Regions from separate parts of the Homo sapiens genome. Here region 2 is linked to region 1. Evidence: promoter capture Hi-C in 16 types of primary human blood cells and fetal thymus (Javierre and others, 2016). All regions are on one chromosome and are shown on one strand. The core of a region is centred on a gene start or on the middle of the fragment in contact, and the rest is flanking DNA. Distances in the headings are between cores, read along the strand shown.

What was found. The method cuts DNA at HindIII sites, captures the fragments that hold promoters and counts their contacts. A CHiCAGO score of 5 or more calls a contact.
Region 2: a contact is called between the fragment with the promoter of SCAMP5 here and the fragment with the promoter of CYP1A2 in region 1, in 8 of 17 cell types (naive CD8 T cells, activated CD4 T cells, non-activated CD4 T cells and 5 more). The highest score is 9.9, in naive CD8 T cells.

What each region holds. Positions count from the first base shown.
Region 1 is chr15:74,745,721-74,750,727 of GRCh38, reverse strand. CYP1A2 (cytochrome P450 family 1 subfamily A member 2) reads right to left here and starts at 1,883. Exons shown (of 7, transcript NM_000761.5): 1 at 1,831-1,883; 2 at 159-998. The coding sequence starts at 989. RefSeq lists promoters at 990-2,127, 3,859-4,407, 1,793-5,007, an enhancer at 3,981-4,239 and a cis regulatory region at 3,214-5,007. The HindIII fragment of the contact is 9,803 bases long and covers 1-5,007 here.
Region 2 is chr15:74,992,747-74,997,805 of GRCh38, reverse strand. SCAMP5 (secretory carrier membrane protein 5) reads right to left here and starts at 2,243. Exons shown (of 7, transcript NM_138967.4): 1 at 2,133-2,243. The HindIII fragment of the contact is 14,301 bases long and covers 1-4,787 here.

The DNA of each region.
Region 1 (5,007 bases), core at 634-3,133:
GGGAAGAGTCGGCTCCAGGTCACACAGCTGGTCTGAGGTGTCCAGAGCCTTCCTAGGCCTTGGCAACACAGCAGCTGTGTGGGCATGCTGGAGCTGGGAGGGAGGGGCTGCACCCAGGCCCTGCAAGGTGCCCCTTGCCACCTGCACCCCGGGCTCACCTTGTCAAAGTCCTGATAGTGCTCCTGGACTGTTTTCTGCAGGAACCACAGGAACCTCTGGTTGAAGGCCTTGAACCTCTGCAGGGCAGGGTTAGGCAGGTAGCGAAGGATGGGGAAGAAGTCCAGGGGGTTCCCGGAGGAGGCAGTCTCCACGAACTCATGAGTGTTCTTCACGAGGCTGAGCATCTCATCGCTACTCTCAGGGAAGTGCTGTCCGAAGCACATGGCACCAATGACGTTGGCCACTGACACCACCACCTGATTGTAAGGGTCGAAGTGCCCAGGCCCTGCCATCAGCTCCTGCAACCTGCTGATCAGGGCCTTAGCCTCCTTGCTCACATGCTCCTCCAGGTAGCAGGAGGATGAGGAAGCTGGGTCAGAGGCGATGGAGAAGGTGTTGAGGGCATTCTGGGCCAGGCGCCGGCGGGCAGCCCACACCGGTCCAGAGTCTGTGCTGAAGGTCAAGCTCTGGCCATCAGTGATGAGGGTGGAGGTGTAGAGGTCAGGCCGGCCCTTGAAATCGTCGCCCTGCCGCACCAGGGCCTGCCGGATGGTGTCCAGGCGGCTCAGCACCAGCACGGGCGTGGAGCCAATGCGGATCTGCAGGACGTCCCCGTAGCGCTGGCTCATCCTTGACAGTGCCAGGTGCGGGTTCTTCCCCAGGGTCAGCACATGCCCGAGCAAGGGCCAGCCCCATGGCTCTGGTGGACTTTTCAGGCCTTTGGGGACCCGAGGCCTCAAACCCTTGAGCACCCAGAATACCAGGCAGAAGATGGCAGAGGCCAGGAGAAGCTCTGTGGCCGAGAAGGGAACAGACTGGGACAATGCCATCTGTACCAACTGCAGGGAAAAAAGGAGGGACCAGGCTGAGGGTTGAGATGGAGACATTCATTCATTCATTTCCTCAGTCATTTGATAAACACTGATGCGTGTTCTGTGCTTGGCTCCCAGCTGGATACCAGAAAGACTAAGCTCCATCTACCATGCGTCCTGGGCCCACAGAGCTCACCCTTTGAGCATCACAGAATCTGAGAGCTGGAAAGGAGCCTCAAGATTCCCAACATGAACGCTGGCTCTCTCCTCCACACATCATCTCAGTTTCCACTTCTGGGGCTGGAGTAGAGGCAAGTGACCACTCCAAAATGGGGAAGCCAAGGACAGCACCCTTGTCAGCCCCTGGCACAGCATGCATGCTGGGTATTGTACCAAAGAGTCCCTGCCAGTGCTGGCTTTCTGCTGATACCTTCCATATACCCAAGGGACCAGGAGTTCCCCCTACCCAGTGACACTGAGGTGGCCAAGGTCCCAGGGCTGGTTCAAATAGCCTGTGATGCCCCCTCCCCAGGGCATTCTTTATCAATACCAGGAGGGGCACCTCCTCCAGGGATGAGTCCCCATCCTCTCACAGTCTTGGAGGTTGGGGTTGGGCTTCAGCCAGGGCCAGGGCTGCCCTTGTGCTAAGGGGGAAGCCCTCCCCATCGCTCTCCTTAAAAATGGCTTAGTCCAAACTGCTCATTTAAAATCGGGAAACAGAAGTCAAGAGCTGGGTAGCAAAGCCCGGAACTCAGGACCCCTACACCTAGCCCAGGCTCCCCGTCTTTCTGTCCCCACTAGCTTCCAGGTTCTATAGTTGGGGATCCCAGAGATTGTAAATTGGTCCCAAGAAAGGTACCTGTAGAGGCAGGTGCTTGAGATTGGCAGGGTTGTAATGGCTGGTGTGGAGCTTCTGGCTCTAGGTGAGTGGCCTTTTTATAAACACCGCCCCCTATCAGATTGGCCTGGTTGTCCTGATCACCTGATATGAAAGCTGGATCACTGAACAAAGTTGGAAGGATCAACTCTTGGCCTTGGGCCATTATCCCTCAGCTCCACCTACTACCTAAGACCCAGGGTGACTCTTTGGGGATAGGCCAGAAGGGGTGCTGGGTCCCTGGGGATGAAGGTACAGCTGTCTTTAGGGTTCAGGGTAGGGAGCCTATTTCTCTGAAGAGTAGGGTAGGGTCTGGGAGTGGGGGTTAGGCCTTTGGACTGATCTGGGCTTCTTTCCCACTGCACACATGAGGAAGAGCTCTGCCAGGGCACTCAGTCTAGGCCAACCAGGCTCACGGCCCCTCTCCAGAGGGATGTTCTTCTGTAGTACCCTCCAACAACCTGCAAAACCAAACAGTAAATGGGCGTGTTCCAGCCACTCCTGATTTTCAGCCCAAGTCCCCAAGTGGAAAAGAAGAGATGATAAAGATTTTGCATCCTAAAGAGAGGCCCCCCTTATGCAAAAAGACTAAGAGACATAACCAAATGCAATATGGATTTGCATTTGATTGCCATATCGATTGGATATGGCATTTAAACAAAATTTTAAAAAAATCTATAAAAGATGTTTTGGGGACAATTGGGGACATGTAAGCACGGACTGGAGATTAGATGATATTCTGGAATAAATGTAAATTTTTTTAGGTGTGAACAGAGTGTCATGGTATGTGGGAGTGTATCCTTATTCTTAGGAGATTAATGCTGTAGCATGGAAGTGTCATGATCCCCACAACCTCCTTTTGAATGGTTCTGTTAAAAAATGTACACCTCTAGGCCAGGCGCGATGGCTCGCACCTGTAATCCCAGCACTTTGAGAGGCCGAGATGGGCGGATCACCTGAGATCAGGTGTTCAAGACCAGCCTGGCCAACCTGGTGAAACTCCGTCTCTACTAAAAATACAAAAATTAGCCAGGCATGGTGGCATGTGCCTGTGATCCCAGCTACTCGGGAGGCTGAGGCAGGAGAATGGCTTGAACTTGGGAGGTGGAGGCTGCAGTGAGCCAAGATCGTGCCACTCCACTCCAGCCTGGGCGACAGAGTGAGACTCCGTCTCAAAAAAAAAAAAAATGTACACCTTTAAAGAGTGTAATTGGATTGTTTGTAACTCAAAGGTTTATCCTTGCTTGAGGGGATGGATACTCCATTCTCCATGAATGCTTATTTCATATTGCATGCCTGTATCAAAACATTTCATGTACCCCATACATATATACACCTACTATGTACCCATAAAATTAAAACAATGTATACCTATCTATCAATAAATCGAGAGAAAGTAGATATGAGAAATGTCAGATATTCATGGACTTACGTGAGGATATATGGTGTTTGTTGTACTAAAGGAGTCTTTAATATGGACCCAGATCTCAGTCAGATCTAAGAGGAGGAGGAGGACAAGCCTTAAATTGGATGTGAAAAGGAAGTTTGCTATCTTTTTTTTTTTTTTTTAGATACAGAGTCTTGCTCTGTCACCCAGGTTGGGGTTCATGTGCCACAATCATGGCTCACTGCAGCCTCGACCTCCTGAGCTCAAACAATCCTCTTGCCTCAGCCTCCTGAGTAGCTGGGACCACAATCACAGGTGTGTGCACCATGCCTGGCTAATTTTTTTATTTTTAAACATTTTTTTGTAGAGAGGAGGTCTTGCCATGTTGCCCAGGTTGGTCTTGAACTTCTGGGCCCAAGCAATCCTTCTGCCTTGGCCTCCCAAACTGCTGGGATTACAGGTGTGAGCCACTGTGCCCGGCATGGATGTGAGAGGGAAGTTTTGATTTAGACTGGAGTGGGCTTTTATTCCTGAAAATGAGAAAACTGTGGGATCAACCTGTGAAGATGCCAAGGCAGATGGATGGGGAATCCAATAGAGAAACAGAGCATGTTTGAAGGCCATGAATGGGAGAAGAGGAAAGTTGTTTCCTGTCTATATCTCCATTGGGTTCAGATGACTCAATGAAAAAGGTCAAGGTTTGAGGTTAGGCTCGGTTTTATAGAAAATGGACTCTTTCTTTCTCTCTGTCTGTCTGTCTCTCTAATTAACTAAAGTTCATGGTTTACTTAGATTTCCTTGCGTTTTACCTAATGTCCTTTTCCTGTTCCAGGACCCATTGGATATCACATGACATTTAGTCATCACGTCTCTTTGGATTCCTCTTGGCTGTGACAGTTTCTCAGGATATCCTTGTTTTTGATGACCTTGACAATTTTCAGGAGTACTGGTTGGACATTTTGTAGGATGCCCACTATTGGAATGTGCCTGATGTTTTTCTTCTCATGGTAAGCCTGGGGTTATGGTTTGTTGGTGGGAAGACCTTGGAGGTTAGGTGCCATTCTCGTCACATCATATCAGGGTTACATCCTATCAATGTGACTTACAGATGTGGATGTTGACCTTGATCACCTGGCTAAGGTAGTGCGTGTCAGGTCTCTTCACTGTAAAGTTACTCCTTTCCCACCTTTCCATACTGTACCTTTTGGAAGGAAGTCACTATGCACAGCCCACACCGAAGGAGTGGGGGATTACGCTCCTTCTCCTTGAGGGGGGATTATCTCCATAAACTATTTGAAATTCTCCTGTATGACAGACTATTTATCTTTTTATTTTTAATGTTTTCTTAAAACTTAAAAAAATTAAATTACAGGATACAATATAGAAAAGTGCATATGTCAGCTGGGACCGGTGACTCACACCTGTAATTCTAGCACTTTGGGAGGCCGAGGTGGGAGGATCACTTGAGTGAGGCCAGGAGTTCAAGACCAGCCTGGCCAACATAGTGAAACCTCATCTCTACTAAAAATACAAAAAAAAATTAGCTGGGCGTGATGGTGCACACCTGTAATTCCAGCTACTCGGGAAGCTGGGGCATGACAATTGCTTGAATCCGAGAGGCGGAGGTTGCGGTGAGCCAAGATCGCACCACTGCACTCCAGCCTGGGTGACAGAGCAAGATTCTGTCTCAAAAATAAATAAATAAATGGAAAAGTGCATATGTCATGTATAGCTCGATCATGTGTAGCTTGATGAATTTTTGCAAACTTAAC
Region 2 (5,059 bases), core at 994-3,493, 250 kb before region 1:
ACTGATGACTATTCAGTAGCCTCCTACAGATCTTTGCCTGGCATTCAAGGCTTTGTGCCAGTCAGCTACAAACCTCCCTCCCACCACCTTTGGCTGCTCACAGGTTGACCTGCCTCCTACACTCCCAGCCTCATGCAGGAGATCATCTCTAGCCGCCCCCTCTGCTTCCAGTGCCCCTAAATTGGCAGCACTATCAGCTCCTCTAAGTCCTGCTACCTTCTCACATCCCACCCCTTCTGGGAAGCCTTTCCAAAAATCGCTGCTCTGCATCCCGCTGCATACATTTTGAGTCAGTCATTGGGCACTAAGTGTTCACGTCTTCTCCCATAATCTCCTCACTCCCTCCTGGATGGAGTTTCCAGGAGGGACCCAGCACAGAGCACAGTCAATCCATATACTTGCTTAAGACTTGGACACTTTCCCAATGGGTGGGAGGGAGGCAATTAACGCCCTCCCCCAATCAGATTAAGCCCAAAGCTGCTGTCAAACCTGCTGTATCACACTTCCTCCAGGAAACCTTCCGAAACTCCTGGCTGGCAGCAGGGAAGGAAGTGCAGCCTGTAAAGGAAATGCTGTGGGGGGCAAGGGGTGGGGATAGGGACAGGGAGGCAGAGGGATAGGGGAGGAAAGGAAAAGGAAGAGGGAGAAGAAAGGGGGGATGCTCTAAACTAGAACAAGGAGCATCCTCAAGGGAGGTCACTACTTAGTCCTATTATTTCATCTCTAGAGAAAGGTGCTAGAAAGAGATGCCCAGAGAGGGGAGGTGACTTGGGGAACTTGCTTGGAGGTGGCCACTCAGGAAACGGTTAAAGAAACAGCCACAGAGCCCAAGGTCTCTCTCTAGAACTCCCCTCCTGGGACCCCACTAACTCTCCAAGGGGTTTGCTAAACCTAAGACCCTCTTTCAGGGGCCCATTCACCAGAGACAGCCCCCTCTCAGCTCTAGAGACTTTGCCCTAAGGCTCACCAAGCCCAGAACAAACCTAAGTTAGCAAGACCTGTGTAGCCCCAAACAAAATCTCTCTGCCAATCATGCCCCTGCAAGAACCATCTCCCTCTTTCAGAGCCCTGCTCCGTGAGGCAGAACATGTAGGGGACAGGTTGCAAATTTCTCCAGACTCCACCACCCCATGGGCAGTCACATGGCTGAGCTCCCAGGCTCAGCCCCCAACAGCTGTGCTCGTTTTCATCCCTGTGCCTTTGCCCATACATTCTCCTGGAATGCCCTCTCTTGCCTCTCCTCCCACCCAAATCCCATCACCTCTGGAAGTCTCCTATTCGCTAGCTGTCGCCTCCCTTTCTCTCTGTGTCCCTGGGAAAGTCTGCCAGGCCCTCACTGATCTCCCCATCGGGAAGCTGGGACATTACTTGTTTAAGCCGCCTGTGACAGTGAATGCTCAGTCCGAGTCTCTACTTGGTTCCCCCAACCCACAGACCAGGAGCTCCCCGAGGCGGAGGACAAGGATCGGTTCACAAACACCTCACCTCCATCCTCGTGACCTCCGGCCAGCGTTGAAATGAGCCAAATCCGGCGCCCCCAACTCACCACCCAAAGCCCTGATGGAGCCCGCCTGGTGGCCTGGGCCAGCGCGCCCGTCGCCTCGCAACCCTGGGGCGGCTGAGGTCCGCCATCCAAAGGTCGGCCGCCCGAGGGAGGTGAGGGAAGTCAACCCGGGTCCACCTGCAGGCGCTAGTTGGAAGGAAAGGCCCAAAGGAAGCCACGGGCACCCCCTTCCAGTCGCCCCCATCCCCGGCTGCGCACGCCATCTCCAGAAGGCCGGTTTCCAGGGAACGCCAGGTGGGGCTGGCGGGGGGGATGGAGGGCCCAAAGCTCAGGCTCCAGATCCAGGGTCTGACGTCACCCAAAGGCCCAGTTCCCTCTGCGGGAGCCACAGATGGGAATGGGGGGGCTTGGGGGGCTCGGGGGGCCTGGGTGCGCCCTGAGCGCTCTCCCCCAGCCCCAAACAGTAAAGGTCACCTCCACTCCCACCTCTCCAGCAGTTCGGCCTTCTTCCTGCATCCAAAGGTGAAGTGTAGGAGGAACAAAGCTGCAGCCAGCGACCCCCACACCTCTCGCCCCGCGCCCAGCTTCCCTTCAAAGCTCTCCTCCCAGCCTTCATGCCCAGACTCACCTGCCGCGGCCGTTCGGCTGCCGAAAGGCCGCAGCGCTGCGCTGAGCTGCGCTGCACCCGAGCGATGCGGCGCGGAGCCGGCCGCGAGCCGCTCCGGGGCTGGGGGCGGGGAGCGCGCGCGCGCGCGCGCGCGCCCGAGGCCGTCTCTGCGCGCGCCCGCGCCGCCACTGCCTGCAGCAGTCACTCTCGCGAGACTTCCGCTCTGCTCCTAAGGCTGCTCCTCCTGAGCTCGCGAGAAGGACGACCCGGCCGCCCCGGCATCTTCCAGGAGCTGTCCGAGGTGCTAGTTCCCGGGCCCCGGCCGGATCAGGTGGTTGACGGGCACCTCAGGGACAAGAGCCTGGCGTGTAGGTGGAAGGAAGAGACCCAGAGATGGGAGCCTGGCACCAGCAGCCAGAGCCTCAGCTTCCATATCTGTAAACTGGGGAGAATAACCTCCTATACCTATGCCAGGAGCCTCTGGGACGTGCCAGAAAGGAGTGAGAAAGAGCTGAAAGCAGGAGAGTGTGGTGACTGCGGAAGGTCCTTCAGATCTGCAGGCGCAGGGGGAAAGAGAGAACAGAGGACGGAAGATCGGAGATGATATTCAGAGAGGCAAGGACACAGATCCACGGAAAGACGACATAGGAGGACGAGAAAGAAGAGCTGCAAACAGAGACAGAGACACACGGAGAGAGAGACTGAGATGAGAGCTCAAGGCCTGGAGAGAAAAAAGACATGGAAAGATAAGATAGGTAAGGGAGCATAATGAAGCAAGAAAGAGGCAAGAAATAGAGACAAATTACGCAAAGGAGCAGAGAGAGAGAGAGAGAGAGAGGAGAGGCTTAGAAAAAGAAAGAGACTCAGAAAAAGGAATGAAAGAGACAGTGATATGCAGAGATGAATACCAAGAGAGAGTAGAGGCAAGGGTAAATGTTTAAAAACCCAGAGCTTTGGAGGGTTGAGAGAGACCCACTTGGAGAGATGGGCTGGGAGTGAAGACAGGATTTTATTGTGATTGGTGTTTACATAGTAAACCTCCGTGGGATCTCTACAGGCAGGGCCAGGGCCACTGTCTGTCCTGCCAGCCAATTGCTCCTTCCCCTACACCATACACCCACCCTCCACCCCCCACCCACACCATCCTAGGCCTGGAAGGGGGCCTCAGTGGGTGGGAGACACTGCAGGGATTCTTTGCCTAGAATAAGGGCCCATTGTCTGGCTCCATCCTGCCAGGAGTGGGGCCTCACTCCCACAGCTGGCATGAAAAGGGGGTGGCAGTGAAAAAAGGCAGACAAGAACTAGTGTGGCAGAGGGGAAAAGGAGGGAGAGAGCCTCGGTGCCTGGGAAGGGCTGAGCAGGAAGCATCATCCTGCCACCAGGCCAACCAGGAAGGAAGGGTCCTGGGCTTCGGGGCAGGACAACTGGGTTCTGTGTCAGTCCTGTCCCTGGTTGACCCACATGCTGTCTCTCCCTGCTATAATGCAAGCCAAGGCTGATTTACAGAGCTGTGGAGAGCAGCCAATGAGATGACAACTGGGAACCTGTCGAAGTTATCAAGTGTGGCTGCTACAGGGAAAATGTTGGGAGTCCATGTGGGCCTCAGGAAAGATATAGGGGTTCACATAGGCCTTTAGGAGAGAGATCTGAGGTCCACACTGGGATCCACAAGGAAGATGTCTGGAAACCACATGGAATTTATAGGAGATATCTTGTGGTTCATGTAGGTCCTACAAGGGAAATATTGGGGTTCCCGTCTGATGACCACGGACAATTTTTCTCCACTCAGAAGAATCAGAAGGGTCTCCTATTTGATAAACAACTAACGTAGGAAGAGTGAGCAGGTCCAAAGTCAGAAGCCCACCTTTGTCCCAGTAGATTGTACCTTTCCTATTCAGGTAAATGGAAGGGAACAATGATCACTTAAACAAACGTTTACTTAATAGGCATTTGCTGGTTACCTACCATGAGAAGAAGCATACAGCAGTGGTTAAGAATATCAACCTAGAAGGCAGACCTTGCCCCTTCCCTGCAGTGTGAATTTGAGAAGGTACTAATCCTCACTGAACCTTAGTTTTCCACATATGTAAAATAAGGATGGTGATAATGGGACCCGTGTCTTAGGGTTCCTGCAAGGATGAAATGAATTAATACATGCAGACACATGTAACATATGGGACTGCCTGGTACACAGTAAGTATTTAATGATCTGTAAATAGATGGATAAAACAATTTTTAAAAATTAAAAATAAAGTATTTAAGCCAGGCACGGTGGGTCACGCCTATAATCCCAGCACTTTGGGAGGCCAAGGCAGGCGAATCACTTGAGGTCAGGAGTTCGAGACCAGCCTGGCCAACATGGTGAAACTTCATCTCTGCTAAAAATACAGAAATAGCCAGCCATGGTGGTGTGCACCTGTAATCCCAGCTACTCAGGAGGCTGAGGCACAAGAATCCCTTGAACCCAGGAGGTGGAGGTTGCAGTGAGCCTAGATGACGCCACTGCACTCCAGCCTAGGCGACAGACCAAGACTTCCTCTCAAAAAAATAAATAAATAAAGTATTTAAAGGTGCTAGCTCAAACTGCGTGGCAGGCACTGGAGACATGTCTTTGTTGTAGTGGAGGGCAGGGGTGAGAGAGCCTGTGCCAAACCATGCAGTAACACATTTCAAGCTTCTTTGCAGATGTGGAGAATGTCACATCTGCTCATATGCCATTACTCAAAGCAAGTCACATGGGTAAGCCCAAAATTAATTCATGGGGGTCAGGGAGGTATGCTACCCATACAGGATGCCAGATAAGTCACATGACAAATGGTGGGGACATTTAATCCCATTGCAGAGGGAGCAAGTAACTGGGAACAGGAACCCAATCAATCAATGTCCCACAGGGCCAGCTCCAGGCTGCTTATCTTTCCCTGCCTAGCTATGCCTGAATGAGGCATGTC